2 separate regions of the Homo sapiens genome follow, and region 2 is linked to region 1. Evidence: promoter capture Hi-C in 16 types of primary human blood cells and fetal thymus (Javierre and others, 2016). All regions are on one chromosome and are shown on one strand. Each heading gives the region's core, a stretch centred on a gene start or on the middle of the fragment in contact. The rest is flanking DNA. Distances are from core to core; before and after follow the strand shown.

Evidence for each region. The method cuts DNA at HindIII sites, captures the fragments that hold promoters and counts their contacts. A CHiCAGO score of 5 or more calls a contact.
Region 2: a fragment that was not itself captured here is called in contact with the fragment with the promoter of PRDM15 in region 1 in 1 of 17 cell types (M0 macrophages); the score reaches 5.1 in M0 macrophages.

Annotation. Positions count from the first base shown.
Region 1 is chr21:41,876,481-41,881,523 of GRCh38, forward strand. PRDM15 (PR/SET domain 15) reads right to left here and starts at 2,864. Exons shown (of 24, transcript NM_001040424.3): 1 at 2,790-2,864. RefSeq lists enhancers at 1,688-1,737, 2,738-2,787 and a silencer at 2,938-2,987. The HindIII fragment of the contact is 16,753 bases long and covers 1-5,043 here.
Region 2 is chr21:42,445,351-42,450,393 of GRCh38, forward strand. It overlaps UBASH3A (ubiquitin associated and SH3 domain containing A), which reads left to right. Exons shown (of 15, transcript NM_018961.4): 15 at 1,707-2,334. The coding sequence ends at 1,844. Among named protein-coding and RNA genes, the nearest start is that of UBASH3A, 44 kb to the left of the region's middle. The HindIII fragment of the contact is 4,588 bases long and covers 1-4,314 here.

The sequences.
Region 1 (5,043 bases), core at 1,614-4,113:
CACCGCTGGTGTAGAGGCTCCCGCAGCTGCTGCAGACCTGTGGCCCACGGGGGAGCCACTCCCCAACACCCTTACATCTGCTGGGACCCCGCAGTTTCCACACCCCAGGGCCATGACTGCAAGAGGAGGGACCTTTCCTTAGGAGGAGCCTTTTGAGGAGCGGACGTGGCCCCGGGGCAGGGTCTTCTCCCACTCTGAGGGAGAGTTTGAAGATGTCTGCTCTACAGGGCCCCTGAATGCCTCAGGTCACCTGCACCTCAGTAAATAGTAGCTCCAGTCACCCACCATGCATTTCCAACCAAACCAGCAGCAGGCCTGCCTGGCTCTGGAACTAGGCTCTGTCCTGCCCCATCTCCCCTTCTGCCTCCGAGTTCTGTGGAGTGGAATCATGCAGGGCCTGGATTCCAGTGATGCCAGCTCCATTCCCCACACACAGCCAAAAGATGCAGACTCTGCCCCGCCACTGCTCAAAGCCCCTCAGTGGCATCCACAAGGCAGTCAGAAGAAAATCTCTGCCTGGTGCATGGCCCCTGCTGCCCCACCTCCATGGCCACACTGGCCTGTCCCATCCTGGGCTCATCCCACCCCAGGGCCTTTGCATTTGCCACCATCTGCCTGGTGGGGGCAGGCACCACCGCACCCACCTCCACCAGAGGCTCCCTCACAGCACTGGTCTCCACTGTGGCCCCTCCTCAGACAGCCCCTTCTAGTCCCAGCCCCCAAGTGCCCCATCCCCTGCCCGCCACCTGCCTGCCCTCCTTCCTTTCTTCATGCTCTTCCCATCGTCTTACCTGAGAGTTTTATGATTTTCTGTCTACACCACCTCCACTCCCCTGCCCAGAACATTAGGTCCACCAGGTGCAGCCCTCTCTCCATTCACTACAGCGTGGGGGCACATAACAGGTGTTCAGTAAACATTGGTGGAAAGAATGCATGAATGGCCGAATGAATGAATATCTGCCCACACCAGCACTGTGAGGGGAGCTGAGCAGGGCCATCCACACTTTGCAAATGAGGAACGGAGTCTGAAAAATCATTTAAGTCACCGCTCACCATCCCAACCTCTTGAGCGCACGGGTGGAAGACACAGTTGCCTTAAATCTCCCTTCAATCTGCAAAATGGCAGGACTGTTCTTTCCTGGCCTTCTGTACAGATAATGACATCGAAAATGATATGAGAGCCACATCCTAAGTGAAAAGAGTTCTTTGTCAAATATAATTATTCTAAGACAAGCTAGCAGCCTTCCAACTACAGTTGATTTTTAAATTTATTTATTTGTCTTCTGGAGAAATAACCGTCCCGCCTGCTTCCAAAATGGAACATTTAGCTTGTTCTTTGCTGGCTACTTTGCGGCAAAAAGTATGAATCACAGATAGAAGAAAAACAAACTATAAAAAAAATGGTGTTTTTGCTCTTGAAAGTCTAAATTATAGAGCTACTATTTCTTAATCGTTCACCGTGAGGCAGCGATGTCAGGAAATCTGGGGAAGGAGTGAAGCAGTGAAAACGTGGAACACGTGAAAATGTCCGAGCTTGAAACAAAATACGGTAGTGGTGTGTGCACCGGGGTGGGATCACCACCCTTATCGAGTGTTGACATCATTGCATTCTCCAAGGAGAACTGTCACTGCTACCTTTTAAGGTACATCACAAAGCCAGTGGCTCCTTCACATGTCACCACCCTTCAGGAACCAAGCTAGGTTCTCCAAATTCACTTGAGTCTGGCTTAAGCCAATGTGGTTTTTTTAAAACGAGTGTTGGTAGCTTTAAATACACACACAGGTCCACGTGTCTCTGATCACACACTTGTTTCTACCGTTTTAAACTCCCTTTGGGGACTTGGGGGTGAGGGGCAATTTCTGAGCATTTGTGGGGGAAAAAACCATCCACTACATTAGGGGGTTAAGAAAGGTAAATGGGTGATAACTCTAACCACCAGATAGGAGTGTTTATTTCCATGAGTTTTCATTTCTATTTTCTCAAGGCTAACCCCTGCGTGAACACCTCCCCTCTAGCAGGACGCTGCGCGTGGCCCCCGTCCCCACCTGTCCACGCGAGGCGGGCCTCACCTGAGCGGCCGGGCACGCCCCGTCCCCGAACGGCCACCCACCCCGGGTAGGCACGCGTCACCTGTCCATCCACCTCGCTACCTTCTCTCTGCCACCAAAAGGCTTACGAAAATAAGGCGCAGGGGGTCTGGGAGACCCCATCACCAGGACTCAGCTTCTCTAAACGCGGGGTTGGGGGTCCAGGGACCCCCCCGTGCGACCCGCATGGGCTGTACCCGAGGGCGGGGGATAACGACATCCCCTGGGGCCTCGGCGACGACGCCGCCCGGCGGCGGGGGCCGCGGGGCCGCGGGCCGGGGCGGCGAAGACCCTGCGCCGCGCCCACGGGCGAGCGCGGCCCGGCAGCCCCGCGGCCCCGCGCTGGGCCTGGCCGCGGGCGGGCGGGGGGCGCGAGGCAGGGGACGGGGGCGCGGAGCCCGGCCAGGAGCGCCCGCGGCGGCGGGACCCGGCGGGCGGGCGGCGCGCAGGGCGATCCCGGAGCGGCTCCGGGAAATCCAGCCGGGTTTTGACTCCGATCGCCAACGGTGCCCGCAGCCGGCGAATGTAACAAAGAACAGTCGGCATGGCGGCTGGACCGGGGCGGCGCGCGGCTGCCGGGCGCGGGGGGCGGGGGGCAGCGGGCCCAGGGCGCGCCGGGGCTCGCGGGGGCAGCGGGTGCGGCCCGGGGCCGGCGGGGCGCACGCCGGGGCGGGCGGCGGGCGCAGGGCCCGGAGCTTTACCTGCCTTTGGAATGTGCAGAGCGGGATCGGATCCGGACTCCGGGTTGCGATCCGCTCCGGAAACTGCGCAGCACCGGAAGCCGGGGGGCGGCGGCGGGGCATGGCGGGACTTGTAGTCCGCGGGCGGGCGCGGGGGGCGCAGGCGAGACCCTGGCGCGGCCGGGGGTCCTGCGGGTGGGACTGCGGGGCGCGGGCGGCGTGGACGGGGCAGCGGGCGCGCGCGGGGCGGGTCTGGCCGGAGGGAATTCCGCGCGCGGCCCCCCTCCCACGTGGCACGGCCCTGCCGCCCACGCGCGCGGGCAGCTCCCTCTCCACCTCTCCTCGGACGCGTTTCTTGCGGAGTTGGGGAGTGGTGGCGGTGGGTGGGTCGAGTTTTTCTCTAGAACAGGCCTGGGACTTGCCCCCACTCACGGTGACCTCTGGATTTGGCCGGCGGGGCCCTGGGACACGAGCTCTGTGCCCGCGAGGGGAGTCTGGCCTGGCGGGCTCCGCCACGCTACCGGTGAGCACCGGGCCAGCCGCGGACCTGGCTCTCCATTCTTCCCCGGGGGCCTGTGTGGCCTCTCTTGACCCCCTCCACCAAGTGTGTGTGCCATCACAAAACGTGAGACGGAGAAGGGACAGACTTTTCACCTTAGTCCTGGCCGCCCATATTCAGAGAGGCCGACTGTCTTGTTCATTGCTGCCTGGCAAAAACCTACATTCATAAAGAGAAGTGATGAACCGGGGAAAATGATTTTAAATTGATGCCACAAAAGGGCTCGTTTCCCTCATGTACGTGAAACTCTTGTGAACCAATAAAAATATATATGTATATAGAAAAATGAGCAAAGTGTGTGGATGGACAGTTCGTAGGAAATTCAATGGTTCTTAAGCATATGAGAAGCTATTCAACTACGCTGCAATAAGAGAAAAAAAGTCGCAGTGGGATCATTTTTATTAGATTAGCAAAGATTTTTTAAAACGTTTAATACAACCTGGGCAACATAGCCAGACCTTGTCTCTAAAAAACTTAGCTGGGCTCGGTGGCACGTGCCCGTAGTCTCAGCTACTCAGGAGGCTGAGGCAGGAGGGTCACTTGAGTCCCACAGTTTGAGGCTGCAGTGAGCTGTGATCGTGTCACTGCACTCCAGCCTGGGCAACAGAGTGAGACCCTGTCTCAAACAAAAACAAACAAAAAAAAGTTTTAATAGCATAATTTTGAAGAAACTAGAGAAACAAGCTCCTTTACGGGTAGGAGAATAAATTAGCGTAGTTTCCATTCAGATATTTGTGGATATCCATAAAAATTCTAAATGCACATAGCCTTTGACCCACATGCAGGAATGGTGCCAGAGACGGACTCGCTTGTATGAATGGCATATGTGATCATCACATTTGCTTACATACTACGTGCCATCCCATGGGAAGTGTTGGATGCACCTGGGCACATCCATAGGCTGCAACGCCGGGCAGCCGGAGACAGATTAGGCAAGTGTTGATCTGTGAAGGCTGGTTTCTCTGCCTGGCCCAGCATTCTACAGTGGCTTCCATGTTGCACTATAGTAGGCCATCCCATGGCCCCCCAGACCTTTCTGGAGCATCCCCGGCGTCCACTGTCTCCCTGCTTGTCCCCACCTGCGACTTCATGCCTCCCTCCAGCCTCCTGTCCCTGAAGCCTGTTCCCAAGGCCTTCTGTACTCTATCTTCAAACACTTCCCAGGTTTTCCACAACCTTCTCTGTATTCAGGTCTCCGCCCAACCCCACTCCCACCACCACCACTACAGCTAATGGACATTCCCTCTATACACGCACCTCCAGTGACATCACTCACAGTTCCAAAATGGCCAGATGACTGGTTCTGTGGGCCTCAGGACATGAAACAGTCCTCGGCATATGTGAATAAAAGGTTGTTTACACTAAAAAAGTGACAGGTCCACAGCAAGTGCGAATAACTGAAAGTAAACCAAAGACTTCAACCTCCCCCAGGCCATTTCTCCTATTACTACATACAGCCCACGGCTGGAATTCACTTACACAATAATCGTCATATCTCGTCTTCAAGAGGATTGTCAATGTGTCCACTATAATCCTTCAGAACAATCTAGAAATAATACCTCTTAAGGCAGATTCATCTCCAAAATGTTAAAAGAAAAAAAAAAGTTTTATCTTAAAGTGTCAAATTTTCATTATTAACAATTAATGCAATATACAACTTTGAAAAATGGGCAGAAAGAAAGAAAAAACAACTATAAAGGTTGTTATTGAGGAAAA
Region 2 (5,043 bases), core at 771-3,270, 570 kb after region 1:
CCCAGGCAGCACGTGCAGCATAGACAATGCCTGTCATCGGAGGTGCTTGAGGCCCTGACCTGGTTTCTTCACATAGCACTGCCACAGGACCACACTGGCCACAGCTTGTTTGCCATAAGTTGTGGGCAGCAGTGGGGGTTGCTGAGTCCCCCCAAGAGGTCAGGGGCTTCAGAGGAGCCCAACTCCCGGGCCCAGCCCAGTGACACCAGCCAGGTGCCTGCAGGAGGGCTTAGCTCTCTAGCTACGCCTGCCTCAGCAGCCAGATGAGAGGTTACGCACATGAAGAGCATGCCTGCCGTGGGTCATTGTCACTCAGCAATTAGGCATCAGACACCCGAATCTCCCTTTCTTGCTCCATTTTCCTCTGCACCTGAGTAGAAACATGCTTCCCCTGCAAAATGTCTCCAGGGTGGTGTGTCCCAATTATGATCCAGACATTTCCGAGCGCCCTGGATTCTTGAGCCACCAGGTGAGCATTGTCCAAATAGGGCAGCTCAACCCCCCTGGGCCACACTGGTAGAGGTCTGCATGGATTTTCCTGGGGACTGTCCGGGGCAGCCCCGGCACCACCTGCTCCCAAAATGTTGCTCTTGCTTCTGCAAATGGGTCTCCCACACATGCGCTCTGATGCATTCCTCCTGTCCCTGCCCCGCTTCCCACAGTCCCATATACACATACCAAGCCTCCAGCCCCAGGCGCTCCTGGGGGCCCACGTAACCAAGGGTGGCAGCACTGCACACACCAGCTGCTGACAGTTCCTCAAACCCATGAGCCTTTGTGGCCAAAGCTCCACCCACTCCTTGGACCCTTCACCCCCTTCCATAGATGCCAATCTTGAACTTCCAAACTCCTGGACTTTCTTATGCTGGTCACGTGGCGTTCACCCTGCCCCTACCCCAAAATAAGCTGGACTTGCTCATGCATATCAGAAAATACAAAGGGGGGGCTCTACCAAATGATGGGCCCCCAAATCAGGGCAGCTGGAAAGGGAGCACTCAGGACCCTCCCCGACCAGCCCATCACCGCCCCTCGCCCACAGCCTCTGCAAGCGTGAGGAAAGAATCACCCTAGGGTCAACACCAGCCTCACTCAGACCCCCCTGCCAGTTGGCATTTTTGTAAATTTCATCTGCCTGAGGAATTTCTAGACATTAGAAAGAGGAAGGAAAGAAAGAAAAGAAAAGACAAAAACAAAAAAGGCTTCACCACAAAGCTCTGTTCTCACACATCCATTTCACAGATGAAGGGATGGAGGTCTAAAGGTTCACTTTGTGCTTTTCTTTTGGGTCTGAAAACTCAATGTCTGTGTCTTTTTGTGATGCTGAATATGAGAATATGAGTCACTCCTTAAGTGGTGGATGGCAATCTCCACCTCAGCCTGCAGACCTTTGTGGTGGGGGCTGTTCTACTCATTGTAGGATGTACCACCTTGTAGGACCTCTACCTGCTAGGTGTCGGCAGCACCTCCATCCTCAGTTGTGACAATCAGAAATGTCTCCGGAATTACCCAGTGTCCCCTGGCTAGGGGACATCCCCCACGGGGCACCGCCAGGGCAGATGTTGGTGCCATTCAATGGTGGCAGTGCCAGCCTGGGCAGTCGCAGACCCTCCAAAGTAGAGGTGTGCCTGACAGTTGGCTTTGGAGCTAGTCTGAAATTGATGGACTTGCTATAAGATATTAACAAGTGATTTAAAACTCTGTTCCAGATCCCTTCCCTGGGCATGTGCTTCTGTGAAGAAAATAAAGAGGAAGGAAAATGGGAGTTGGTGAACCCACCGGTGAAGACCCTGACCCACGGGGCGAACGCAGCATTTAACTGGAGGAACTGGATCTCAGGCAACTGAGAGCCACGGTGATGTTGTCATAACCTCAGAGTGGAGAGGCAGAAACCATGTGCAGAGGCTGGGAGATGCTGCTGTTTCCAGAGGCGTCTTAGTCTCACCCAATGTGATTTGTAGAAGCACGAGACGCACTTTTATATCCCGGAATATTTCCCTCCGGCTTTCGCCTTTGTAACTCCCATCTGTGGACCCATCGTCCACCAGCCCAGCTGCGGGGAGCACAGGGCAGGTGGCTGGGTGAGGATGCCGCCCTGCAGCATGTACACCGAGTGTCTGCAGCTGGGGACACAACTGCCCGGGACTCTAACTTCCAGGAATTAAAGACTCACCACACACGAAGGATCTAACCACTTCATTTTCCATGGTCTAATCATTAAATTCCCAATCGTTTTTTCTTTTTCTGGGTCCATCACTCTTTAGCCATATCCACATGGGCTAAAACAGGTGTAATAGTCAATAAAATGGTCCCAGAAAACCATCGACCAGGTCAAAACTGGGTTGCTGCTCCGTGCTGTCAACATTCATGTTACTATGTCTCTGTGGTTGCTGTAACCAATGACCACAAACCTGGGGGTCATGGAAAGAACACAAACTTTACACACACACACACACACACACACACACAGGCACATACACACATGCACATATGCATACAAAGACAGGCACACACGAGCATGCACACACACAAACACGTGCACATACACATGCGCACACACATGCACACGCACATGCACACACACGCAGGTACACAAGCATGCAAACACACATACACATACAAACGCGTGCATGCATACATGCACACATGAGCACACAAACACATGCACACACTTGCACACATGCACACAAAGGCATACACATGCAATGCACACACACAAACACACATGCACACACAGGCACACACACGCTCACATGCACACACACACACGCTGACTCTCCTACGGTTCTGGAGGTTGGCATTTTCTCAGCAGGCTATGTTTCTTCTGGAGCCTCCAGGGGAGGATCCTTGCCTTTTCTCACTTTTAGAGGCCACCTGCATCCTCCCTCCTCAAGTACAGCGGCGTAGCAGCCTCCAAGCTCTCTCAGTCTCTGCCTTCACAGCCACATCGCCTTCTGCTTCTGACTCTCCTGCCTCCCTCCTACAAGGGCCCTTGTGTTGACACTGGGCCCACCCAATAACCCAGGATCAATTCTCATCTCAAGAGCCTTAACCACACATGCAAAGTCCCTTTTGCCACATAAAGTTGCATATTCCCAGGTCCCGGGGATTAGGACATGAACATCTTTGGGGGTTATCCTGTAGCCTGCCATAACATACCCCAATCCTTCCAAGCACAGCGGAGCTGCCCGTACAGGGCCTCGGACATAGGGATTTGAGACACTCCCCTTGCAGGCCTTTTTTGGCTTCTCCTATTCTTGTTTCTGATCACGTAGAGGAGAGAAGAGGACTTTGCCAGTGGGAGAAGTAGGCTCCCCCGATTTAATGGGGCCCCAAAAGAAGGGCCACGAGCAAAGTGGAGTCTGTCCATGATGGTGATGCTGAGGAAGCTGGTCCAGCAGGGGATGGGGTCTCCCCAGTGGGGAGTCTCATGCCCCAGCCCACAGGTCACACCTGCTCCCACAGCCCACACATGTGGTGCCTCATGCTGCAGGCAGAGATCCCAGCACGGTGTAGTGACAGTCCATCGGTCTTTCATCTCTTCTAGCCCCCTGATCCAGTGCAGGTGTTATTTCATGATTGCAGTTTGGGGCTGTGGTGGTGGCTCTGTGAGTGCCTTTTATAGTGTGAATGCAGAGACAGGGCAGGAAGGACCCATGCTGCACCCTCAGCCTCCCCTGTGAGCACCCAGGCAAGTGGAGGGCAGAACACAAAGGGAGCTCTTGTAGAAATAAAGATGGTGAACACCCCGGGCTGTGACAAAAACGGCCCACATTGTGTAGAATGCACAGGAGGCCAGACCCAATAAAAGTTTCCTTGCTGTTTTAGTCAATCAAACACGACCTCCTGAGAAAAAGACGCATCTGTCTGTCCCTTGTTTTATTTCACTAATGATGTAGTTTTTCTGTGTCCAAACATAAAGAAGTTTGAAGTTGACACAGCCACAGAGAGCAGAGCATGCACCCCACTCACAGGCCTGCTTCGAGTCCAGGCCATACCGAAATGACGTCTTCAGGGAGATTGTTCTAGACGCATCCCAGCAGATACCGACTAGAGAAGAGATGGATTCACTGGGATGTAGGTGGCTGGGCAGTACGTCCTGCAACAAATACACCCCACCGCTGGGCACCTGGGTGGTTGTTCTTTCTCCTCGGCAAGTGTGTGGTTGGGTCCAAGTCCCTCCTGGATACCACAGTGCCACGCTCGCTAATCATGATGATGAATTAAAGTGCTGCAAGTCAAGGTATGGCATTGAAATCACAGTCACGTGTTCAGGTGGTCTGTAATGAATCTCTGGATTCACCTTCTCAGGGGTGAAGCTTCCAGGTCCTCCACCCTGGGCAAAGCCAGACACAGGTAATTCCCCTCTCATCCTGCTGGGCTGCTCACAGGTTTTGCAAGGAGAATGAGATGGGTTTGAAACTCAGATCTCCAGATCTCCAGATCTAGTGTGCAAGAAATAGCATTTTCTCGATATTCTATGCTTCTGGTTCTGTCAGACCCTCATTCCACCCCCAAGGCAGAGGACCCCAGTTCAGTGGTTCTGTTCCTCCAGAAGGAACCATTCGCTGTATGGACTGAGCCTTGCGGACAGAGCTGGGCTGGAAAAGGGCAGAGACGGAAATGCCTGGTGGGATTATCATGATTGGGTGTAAACTGTCTACTCTATGAACCAATAGGAAATCCCAAAAAAAGAAAACAAAAGACACTCTTTTTTCCTTCCTCTCCCTGGGTGGGTCGCTTTGGTGTTTGTGAGCCAAGTCTGACCCCTGCTGACACCGTCTGGAAGTGGACGTCCTGTCACCAACGCCATCCCAACCCATGCCCCACCCACATTCTCTTGTTGACTTCCTCACTGTGTGCTTGAAAAAAAAAACAAGCCTGGGCCAGGCATGGTGACTCATGCCTGTAATCCTGGCACTTTGGGAGGCCAAGGCGGGCAGATCACGAGGCCAGGAGATCGACACCACCCTGGCCAACATGGTGAAACCCCGTCTCTACTACAATACAAAAACGTAGCCAGGCGTGGTGGCGCATACCTGTAGT